Regions from separate parts of the Homo sapiens genome. Here region 1 is linked to region 2. The links are contacts of gene promoters, found by promoter capture Hi-C in blood cells and fetal thymus (Javierre and others, 2016). All regions are on one chromosome and are shown on one strand. The core of a region is centred on a gene start or on the middle of the fragment in contact, and the rest is flanking DNA. Distances in the headings are between cores, read along the strand shown.

What was found. The method cuts DNA at HindIII sites, captures the fragments that hold promoters and counts their contacts. A CHiCAGO score of 5 or more calls a contact.
Region 1: a fragment that was not itself captured here is called in contact with the fragment with the promoter of ZNF121 in region 2 in 1 of 17 cell types (total CD8 T cells); the score reaches 5.3 in total CD8 T cells.

The regions. Positions count from the first base shown.
Region 1 is chr19:9,343,289-9,348,978 of GRCh38, forward strand. It overlaps ZNF559 (zinc finger protein 559), which reads left to right. Exons shown (of 7, transcript NM_032497.3): 7 at 1-2,583. The region is part of intron 6 of ZNF559-ZNF177 (ZNF559-ZNF177 readthrough); the gene reads left to right. It also overlaps the pseudogene UBXN2AP1. Among named protein-coding and RNA genes, the nearest start is that of ZNF177, 17 kb to the right of the region's middle. The HindIII fragment of the contact is 3,064 bases long and covers 114-3,177 here.
Region 2 is chr19:9,582,525-9,588,098 of GRCh38, forward strand. It overlaps ZNF121 (zinc finger protein 121), which reads right to left and starts at 1,980. Exons shown (of 4, transcript NM_001008727.5): 1 at 1,937-1,980. RefSeq lists enhancers at 1-744, 1,559-2,370. The HindIII fragment of the contact is 737 bases long and covers 1,677-2,413 here.

The DNA.
Region 1 (5,690 bases), core at 396-2,895, 240 kb before region 2:
TGTGCATCCTAGGAAACAAACTGAACGTAGGAAACCTGTCGATGCTTACATCTTACTGAGTCTGTTTGAACTCATGCTGGAGAGAAATGCTATGAATGTGAGGAAGGTGGAAAAGCTTTCATTATTTTCCTCGGGCCTTACTGAGCTTGTGAGCACATTGGATATAAATGCACGTCCTCTGGCTGTAAGGAATGTGTTGAAACCTTTCACTCTGCCTTATACCTTAATATTCAGCTGTGATCTCACAAGTGTGAAAAATCTTATGAATGTAAAATGTGTGGAGATTCTTCTTTGTTTTTAGCTTCCACTTTGGGAACATGTCAAAGCACACATTGAGAAGTCCCATGAGTGAAAGAGATGTTGGAAAGCCCTTGAACTTGGTCGTTAGGAAACATCCACACTGAAGAGGAACCTGACTGTATGGAAGGTCAAAAAGGCTGTATTAATTTACATGCAAAAAGTCACACTAGAGGAATGCCATATCAGAATGCTTTTGGTAAATATACATGTTTTAAAGAGGTTATATATCATTAATAAAAATATCTAGCTGGTCTGAAGATCCTGAGTTATCTCAATTGTTCACGGTTACAGATGGAACTCTTTATTATTGAGGAGTTCCACTCTTTCCCCCATTTGTCACTACTACACTTCCCTAGTCTTTAAAACAATTTTAGGCTGGGTGCAGTGGCTCATTCCTGTAATCCCAGCACTTTGAAAGGCCGAAGCGAGTGGATCATTTGAGGTCAGGAGTTCGAGACCAGCCTGGCCAACGTGGTGAAACCCCATCTCTACTAAAAATACAAAAATTAGCCAGGCATGGTGGTACGTGCCTGTAATCCCAGCTACTCGAGAGGTTGAGGCAGAATTGCTTGAACCCGGGAGGCGGAAGCTGCAGTGAGCTCAGATCACGCCACTGCACTCCAGCCTGGATGATATGGTAAGACCATCTCAAAAAAAGAAAAAAAAATTAAAATATCCTCAGAGGGTTTTTTAATGAAAAACTTAGTTATAGGGAATTGAGGAACATTTAGGGGTACAAATTTTCACTTATTGCACACAAGAAAATTGGTACTGGCCAGGCATGCTGGCTCACACCTTAATTCCAGCAATTTGGGAGGCCAAGGCAGAAGGATCACTTGAGCCCAGGAGTTCAAGACCAGCCTGGGCAATATAGTGAAACCTCATCTTGACAAAGAATAAATAAGATTAACTGGGTGTACTGGTTTGTGCCTATAGTCCCAGCTATTTAGGAGGCTGGGGCAAGAGGATTGCTTGAGCCTGGTCAGGGAGGCAGAGGTTGCAGTGAGCCCTGATCGTGCCACTACACTCTAGCCTGGGCAACAGGATGAGACCCTGTCTCAAAAAAAAAAGAAAATTGACGCCAGCAAAGAAAACCAAATAAATTATTTAAGTTTGCCTTTCTATATGTCTTTAAAGACTAATGATATTGAACATCACTTTCATATGCTTATGAGTCTTTGGTGAAGTGTACATTTAATGATCTTTTTTCACTGTTGCTGAGAATCTTTGGTTTGAATTATTGAGGCAGGTTCTTTCAGTAAGTTTGAGATATAATTGCCATGTAATAAACTGCACATGTTTTTAGCATACACTTTAAGTTTGGACACATACACATATGTGTACATACACACCATCAAGATAATGAACATACCTATCAAACCAGATGGTTTCCTCATGCCCTTTTATAATTTCTTCTTCTCCTCACCCTTCCCTGCCTGTCACTCTCCTGATCCACTGATTTGCTTTCTCTTAGAATAGACGACTTTATATTATGTACAGTTTTTATATAAATGGAATCATATAGTCTGGCATCTTTCAGGATAATTTTTTCAGATCCATTTATGTTGTAGGGTCCATTTCACTGCTGAATAGTATTCCATTGCAAGGCATACCACAAGCTATTTATCCATGTGTTATTTCTACCTTTTGGCTATTGCAATTAAAACTGCCTTGAATACCCATATGCAGATTATTCTTTAAACATGTGCTTCTGTTTCTTTAAATAGTTAAGAGTGGAATGATCAGATCATATGTTAGTGTACGTTTAAGTTTTTAAGAGACTGCTAAACCTTTCTCAAGTAGTTATGCCATTTGACATTTCCATGAGCAGTATATAAGAGTTGCAATTCTTCTGCATCCTTGCCAATTATTGGTATGGTCAGTCTTTTTTATTTTGACCATTTTAATAGGTGTGTAGTAGTATCTCATGGTTTTAATTTGCATTTCCCTAGTGACTAATGATGTCTTACATGGTTTCACGTGCTTACTGGCCTTCTTTAAGCCTTTGGGGAAGAGTCTGTTCAAATCTTTTGCCTGTTTATATTGGCTTTATTTTTTATTTATTTTTATTTTTTTTTATATAGAGACAGGGTTTTACTCTGTCTCCCAGGCTGAAGTGCGTGGCACGATCATGTGGTTTTGCAATATTTATTGAATTTTGAGAGTTTAAAATTTGTAATATATTTAATATTAAACCTATTAGTGTATTTGATATTAATACTTTATATTTAATATAATGTACATTTAAATATATAATAAAACATTTCATTTTAACAGAGGTAACATAAATACACTTCCCAATTTATGGAGTTTGACTTAGTATTGTTTTTAATTTACAATGGTGCAAACATATTATGCATTCAATATGTTTCTCAATTTATGATGGGGTTACAAATTGTCAACTTATGATAGTTTCAACTTACAATAGGTTTGTCAGGACATAGCCCTGTCATAAGTTGAGGAGTATCTGTATTACAATATATTTAATATGTTGTACTTGTGGTACAAGTACATGGTGCACTTTGAGTTAAAATCTTTATATGGCACAAAGATTGGATCAAAATTTGGGGTTTTTTTTTTCTTTGTATCTCATTGTTCTAGCATCATTTATTGAAAAGACTATCCTTTCTCCACTTAATTGCCTTTGCTTCTTTCTTGAAATATTGGTTGTCTTTATACGTGTGTCTGCTTCTCAACTGTTCTGTTCCATATAGCTACTTATCTTTTATTCCAAGACTACCCTCTCTTGACAACTTCATAACTTTTGAAGTCCGATAGAGTTTAGTCTTCCAGCTTTTTCTTTTCAGAGTTGTCTTTACTATTTTAGGTCAGAGGTTGGCAAAGTTTTTTATAAAAGACCAGATTGTAGAGATTTTAAGCTTTACATGCTATATATAGTTTCTGTTGCATATTATTTTTTCTATTACAGACCTTTTAAAATATAAAAATAGTTCTCACATTCCATTCAACCTATACAGTTATAGGCTGTGAGCCACATTTGGTCTTGATGTGGCTGTACCTTGTTGACTTACAGCTGTTACAGGACTTTCGTATTTCCATATAAAGTTTAGAATCAGGTTGTCAATTTCTACCAGCACCACCCCACACCCCCAAAGTAATTCACTAAGATTTTGATTATCATTGTGTTGAATCTGCAGAATAATTGATGTCTTCACAATATTGAGCATTTCAACCCATGAACATAATATATCTCTCCACTTATTTAGGATTTATAATTTTTTTCTCAGTAGTATTTGTGTTTTTCGGTGTTTGGGTCTTCCTAGGCATTTTTTCTCTGACACTATTGCAAATGGTATTTTAAAAATTTCAATTTCTCTGCTAGTTCACTACTACTATAGAGGAACACAGTTTTTTTACATATATTCATCTTGTATGCTGCACCCTTGTTAATTTGTTCTGGAAGATTTATATTAACATTATACTTAGAATATATTAACATTATAATAAGCTACATAATTTTATTTTTTTATTTTTTAAATTAAAATAGAGATTGGGGTCTCACTATGTTGACCAGTCTTGAACTCCTGGCTTCAAGCGATCCTCCCATCTTGGCCTCCCAAAGTGTTGGGATTACAGGCGTGAGCCACTGAACCTGGCCACAATTTTATTCTTAAATGAAAATAGATCTTTGATATCATCGCCAGATTCATATTTGTTTTTTGTTTTCTTGAGATGGAGTTTTGCTCTTGCTGCCCAGGCTGGAGTGCAGTGGTGCCATCTTGGCTCACTGCAACTTCCACCTCCCAGGTTTAAGTGATTCTCCTGCCTCAGCCTCCCGAGTAGCTGGGATTACAGGCACCCGCCTCCACCCCCAGCTAATTTTTGTATTTTTAGTAGAGACGAGGTTTCGCCATGTTGGCCAGGCTGGTCTTGAATTCCTGACCTCAGGTGATCCACCCACCTCGGCCTCCCAGAGTGTTGGGATTACAGGCATGAGCCATCACGCCCAGCTACCAAATTAATATTCAAATATATGTTGCCATTACAGAGTGATAACTAAGGACACTTTGAGGTATAGGCATAGCTGTGGTAAAAACAGCTCTCTCCAGCTTTGCATCTAAGTTGTAAAATAATTACATTGATGCTTTTAAACCTGCCATGTATAATTTTTCAATGTATTAGCCATTTAATAACTCTGAGACAGCTAACATTTAAATAAATCCCTGTTTGGGAATGGTATTTGAACAAATAATATTGTGAACATATTTGCCAATTTATACTATATTAAGATTCTAAATAATACAGCTATTTAATATATCTTGATAATTAGTATTTGAAATAAATATATTTCTCTGAGTAGCCTTTTGGAAAAAGTGCACAGAATATAGTTTCCAGTCATATGCTACTTTTCTAACTTGCACTTATCTAAACATTTCATCAGGAGAGAGTTCAATAGTACCCGAACCAAAAGTCCAGTGAATCTGACTTACCCAGTCCCCAATTTGGTTTGCATGTCTGCTTACAACCATCATTTCTCTGCAGATTTTCCACTTAGTCTATCAAAAATCAATGGTGCAGCAGTTTTTTGGAGTCTCTGACAACAAAACTCTGTAAATCTGCTTCTTCCAGTGTGAGTGTCTCATCTAACAATCTGAGGATAGGACAAACTGTTGCCAGGGACAGGGGAGGACTTCTTTTGAGATCCTTGGTAGTTTTCAATGAAGTCTTTGATATGGCTTACCCTTCCTACTTGGTGACCCTGTCCTGAAAAGAGCTGGAAGACAGGCTTCGTAGACATATATGTTTCATTTTTCTTGTCTTCAACTTTAACACCCACCTCTTTATCAAAAATTCCCTGTAATTCTGAAGGTAATTCCCCCTTTTTGATGGAGTTCAGAAACTGCTGACTTGCACCATTTGAATAACTTCTGAAATAATTGTTGACGGTGAATCCATTTTTCCATAATTTTATGTTTACGTCTACCTGTTTCTTTTGTTAAGTGGGAGACAAGCATTTGGAACCAACCTTCTGAGCTTCCTCAAAAAGGCTATCAACAAACTATTCACAATTTGTTTATTGATTATCACCAAGACCTTGATTGTCAGGTCCTGTTTCACAAACCCAGTCTTTTATACTTTCGAGATTATCTACGTCTTTCATTCTCTTTTGCGTTACTCCGAGCACAGCCTCCAAGCCTAGGCCTCACTCAGCTCAGGAGCCACCAGCACTGTTTGGCTGCGAGCTCCGTTTGGCTGGAGCCCTTCAGACCCGGAGCGCCTCGCCCGAGACCACCTCCGGTACCCCGGCTGCGCTGCTGATATCCCGCCGGCCTCTCTGTCTCCACCAAGTGCCAAGCGTTCACCCACGCCTGCTGCCTGCAAGACCTGAGGAACGCGCATGGGCTTTTTTTTTTTAAGACAAGTTTCAC
Region 2 (5,574 bases), core at 730-3,229:
CCCCTATCTCCCTTTGCTGACTCCTTTTCTGAACTCAGTCTGCCTGCACCCAGGTGATTAAAAGCTTTATTGCTCATACAAAGCCTGTTTGGTGGTCTCTTCACATGGACGCACCTAATGCTAGGGAGGCAGGAGAATTACTTGAACCTGGGAGGCAGAGGTTGCAGTGAGCCGAGATCGCACCTCTGCACCCCGACCCGGGTAGCAGAGCGAGACTCTGTCTCAAAAAAAAAAAAAAAAAAACTACTAGACTGGGTGTGTTAGATGTTCAAGTTTTCCCTAGGATCAAATTTTTCAGAAAAAAATGTCAAAACTACACTTAGTCTAAACATGCTGTTAATAAATTCAATAGATACTACTTTATTACACTAATACTAGAATAATATTCTGATTATAAAGCCTCCATCCTGGCCAGGAGCGGAGGCTCACGCCTGTAATCCCAGCTCTTTGGGAGGCCGTCAGGCGGATTACAAGGTCAGGAGTTCGAGACCAGCCTGGCGAGCATGGTGAAACCCTGTCTCCACTAAAAATACAAAAAAAAAAAATTAGCTGGGCATGGTCCCCATGCCTGTTGTCCCTGCTACTCGGAGGCTGAGGCAGGAGAATCACTTGAACCCAGGAGGTGGAGGTTGCAGTGAGCTGAGATCGCGCCACTGCACTCCAGCCTGGGCGACAGAGCAAGACTCCGTCTGAAAAAAACAAACAAAAGCCTCCATCCTTTCTTCCTGTGGGCCCGTTTTGAAGCTCTGTGGGGGGGTACAGACCTAGGAACTTCAGATAAAGACAACAGCTGTGTATTATTGCCTTTCTTTCTTTTTTGAGACGGAGTTTCGCTCTCATCGCCCAGGCTGGAGTGCAGTGGCAGATCTCGGCTCACTGCAACCTCGGCCTCTCAGGTTCAAGCAATCCTCCTGCCTCAGCCTCCCAAGTAGCTAGGATTACAGGGGACTGCCACCAAGCCTGGCTTTTTTTTTTTTTTTTTTTTTTTTGTGTGTGTGAGACGGAGTCTCCCTCTTTTGCCCAGGCTGGAGTGCAGTGGCGCGATCTCGGCTCACTGCAAGCTCCGCCTCCCGGGTTCACGCCATTCTCCTGCCTCAGCCTCCCGAGTAGCTGGGACTACAGGCGCCCGCCATCGCGCCTGGCTAATTTTTTGTATTTTTAGTAGAGACAGGGTTTCACCATGTTGGCCAGGCTGGTCTCGAACTCCTGACCTCAGGTGATCTGCCCGCCTCGACCTCCCAAATGGCTGGGACTACAGGCGTGAGCCAGCGCGCCCAGCCTGCCTTTCTTTTGTAGAAAGGCTTGTAGCTGGTAACAACAAAAAACATTAAGTCCAAGAAAATAAAATAAGAAACTAAAGGCTCACAGTCTACACGTGTTCATATTTACATGCAGATATAGGCACACCCTAAACGACTATTTTTTTTCCATCAGAAAGTAATGTGTCAAAAATAAGAATAGGACATCAATGCCAGATTCTCAGACGAGACATTTTTAAGCAAAGAAATGGAAGTCAGAGCCCTCTTGAAACCAATTTTCTGCAGGTGTTCACCAGGAACATGCCGGAAACGCCAGGTTCCTGAGGCGCGGAAATGCGGGGCCGGAGCCAACCTGACTGGAACGGCAGAAATCCTTTTACTTTCAGAAAGAAAGAAACTCACAAAGGTTGCTTTCCAAGCTTTTGAAGAAGGGAGCACAGCGGATGAAACCACTCCAGAAAACGCGCGGAGTCGGGACAAACACACTTCCCGACCTGGCTCCTGACTGGGACCCACTGAGCCTGCGGCCTCTAGCCACTGGCCGCGCAAGGAGGACCGACAGCCCCTGGAGAAGAGAGTGAAACGAGGCGGATCGGAGAGGCTCCTGGGCGACAGCACCCAATCGTTCCTTTGCCGCCCCCCGCTATCTCCGGGATCCCCAAGCAGGCGGAACTCACCACAGCCAGGGTGGACTCCACCACGATAAAGGCGAAATGGCACTGACCATGCGGAGCCAGCGCCGGAAAAGATGGCGATTGTGCGCTGACGTCACTTCCGCTCCGAGCCTCGGGCCGGGCGGGGCTCCTGGGTTCGAGTTTCAGCCACATAGGACCCAGTCAAACACAGAAATTGTAGTTTCTTCCCGGGTGGGCGCGGACAGGCCCTTACTTGGGGGCGGTTTAGAGGTGGGACCCGGCTAGCCGGCGGTTCAGGTGGCCGGACCTGCTGGAAGGGCGGGCGTGGGGGATGGGACGCACCCCAGGGGATGCTCCTGCAGAGCTTTTCCCAGGTGGGCACAGTGGCTAAGGCCTGTAAGTCCAACACTTTGGGAGGCTAAGGCAGGTGGATAGCTTGAGTCCAAGAGTTCAAGACCAGCGTGGGCAAAATAGCAACATCCTTTATTAAAATATATATGTGTGTATACATATATATAAAGCTTGTTTGTATACATCTCATGTTCCTAGAGCCTTTCCATGATTCTTCCATATGGATAAAGCTGCCAGTGAATGGCATGGTCTATCTCTTCTATTCAGTCAGGCTTTCTGTAGGCCTTTATTTCTTCATTCTTTATTTTTTAGAACCTGCTGGTTCCATTGCGTTTTCTTTTTTCGTTTTTCTTTTTCATTTTTTATTTTTTTTTGAGACAGATCTCACTCTGTTGCCCAGGCTGGAGTGCAGTGGCATGACCTCGGCTCACTGTAACCTCTGCCCCCCGGGTTCAAGTGATTCTCCTGCCTCAACCTCCCGAGTAGCTGGGATTACAGATGTCTGCCTCCACGCCCAGCTAATTTTTGTACTTTTAGTAGAGAAGAGTTTCACCATGATGGCCAGACTGATCTCGAACTCCTGACCTCCAATGATCTGTCTCCCTCAGCTTCCCAAAGTGCTGGAATTATAGACATGAGCCACCGCACCCGGCCACGTTTTCAATATAATAATATTTTCTGTAAATCTTGATTTTTTTTTGTCTTCATCAAGTATGTATTTCTGGCTGGGTATGGTGGCTTATGCCTATAATCCCAGCAATTTGGGAGGCCAAGGGATCGTTTGAGGCCAGGAGTTTGAGACCAGCCTGGGCAATACAGCAAGACCCCGTCTCTGTTTAAAAAAAATTTTAAATATGTTTTTGTTTTTGTTTTGAGATGGAGTCTAGCTCTGTTGCCCAGGCTGGAGTGCAGTGGCACGATCTTGCTCACTGCAACCTCTGCCTCCCGGGTTCAAGCGATTCTTCTCTCTCAGCCTCCTGAGTAGCAGAGATTACAGGCAGGCGCCGCCATGCCCGGCTAATTTTTGTATTTTTAGTAAAGACAGGGTTTCACCATATTGGCCCAGTTGGTCTCGAACTCCTGACCTCATGATCCGCCTGCCTCACCTTTCCAAAGTGCTGGGATTACAGATGTGAGCCACCACGCCTGGCCAAAAACATGTATTTCTATTGTTATTTTTCTGATCTTCCCACATGGGCCAGGACCACATTTCCTACATTGTAAAATAGCACTGACACCAGACATTCTCCCCAGGTTTATTCAGAAATGTAACATAATCCCAGTAAAAATATTAAAAGTTTTTTCTGGAGTTAGGTACGTTGATACTAAAGTTTATGTGGAAGAATAAATATCTGATAATAACCAAGAAAACAAAAACAAAAGCAATGATGAGCAGCAGATGTTAAAACATACTATTAACAGTTTTCACACAAGGCAAATAATTAAATTATATTAAAATAAAAATAAATAAGACATACTATAAAGCCTCTATAATTAAAACTATGTGGTACTAGCACATGAAGCAGAAACAGACTAATAAAATATCTAAAAACAGACCCAAGAACATGTAGGAATTTGGTTCATAAATGTGGTATTTTGCCAGGCGCGGTGGCTCATACCTGTAATCCTAGCAATTTGGGAGGCTGAGGCGGGAGGATCACCTGAAGTCAGGAGTTCGAAACCAGCCTGTCCAACATGGTGAAACCCTGTCTCTAATAAAAATACAAAAATAAAATTAGCCAAGCATGGTGGTGGGCTTTCTGTAATCCCAGCTATTCGGGAGGCTGAGGCAGGAGAATCGCTGAAACCCAGAAGGCAGAGGTTGCAGTGAGCCGAGATCGCGCCACTGGACTCCAGCCTGGGCAACAAGAGTGAAAATCCATCTCAAAAAAAAAAAAAAAAGGTATTTCAGATCAATGAGGCAAAAAAAGCCATTTGTAATGGAAAGTCTAAGACAGCTGGGTAGCCATCAGAGAAAAGATGAAATTAAATCCATACTTCACAGCATATACAAGAATAAACTCTAAATGGACTAGGGATCTAAATGTGAAAAATAAAACCATATACGCATTCAGGGTGTAAGTGATTTCTTGGCTGAGTAAGGAAAAAGACGTGACCACAAGGCGGCAGTAGCACACAAGCTTCATTTGGGATGTGCTTTGACAGGTAAGGAGTGGCGGGAGGTAGCAAACAGCAAGAGAATATCCACAGGCTTCTACCTGTGGGTCGCTGCTCAGAAAGGGTGGAAAGGAAGAAAGACTCCCAGAGGAGAAGGGGAATCAAAGAGGGGGCTTATATGACTAAGTGACGATGCTCAGCAGCCTGGCAGCATATCTTCCAGTTAAAAAGTTCTGAAGGACAAGTCTGGCCAACATGGTGAAACTCCGCCTCTACTAAAAATACAAAAATTAGCCGGGCATGGTGGCGGGCGCCTGTAATCCCAGCTACTCGGGAGGATGAGGCAGGAGAATTGCTTATACCCGGGAAGCGGCGGTTGTATTGAGCCAAGATCGCGCCATTGCACTCCAGCCTGGGCGATAGAGTGAGACTCAGTCTCAAAAAAATAAAAATAAAATATGTAATTATCTGTTCATTCTGAGTACAGGGAAACACTGATAGGACTATCCTGAAAATAATAAGATTCAGAATCTATCGGGGATAGATGGGAAGGGCTTGAACAGAATGGTGGGATAAGAACAAAATGGAGAGGATAGGGATAGGGAAACCTCTCTGAGCATATCATTCTGTTTAGTTCTGATGTTTAAAATCACATTCTACTTTTTTTTTTTCTTTTTGACAGGGTTTCACTCTGTCACACAGGCTGGAGTGTAGTAGCGTTATCATTGCTCAGTGCAGCCTTTACTTTGTGAGCTCAAGTAATCCTCCTGCCCAAGTACCAGGGAATACATATGTACACCACCACATCCAGCTAATTTTTAAAAATATTTTGGGTAGAGAAGAGATCTCTCTATGTTGCCCAGGCTGCTCTTGAACTTCCAGTCTGTCACATATAAAGTTTTGGTGCCACAAAAGAAATAACACTTGAATATAAAATTTTCTTTTTAATTCTCAGCAAGGCAAGATACTTCTATAGAAGGGTGCACTCTCACAGATGGAGCAATGGTGGGCACACACCTGGACAAGGGAGGGAAAGGGGTTCTTATTCCTGACACACGTGGTCCCTACTGCTCTGTCGTTCCCCTACTGGCTAGGGTTGGACCTCACAGGCTAAACTAATTCCGATTGACTAATTTAAAGAGAGTGATGGAGTGAGCGGTTTGGGAAAAGGGTGCTTTATGAGGAAGTTAAGTTTAAAAGTAGAAGGCAAA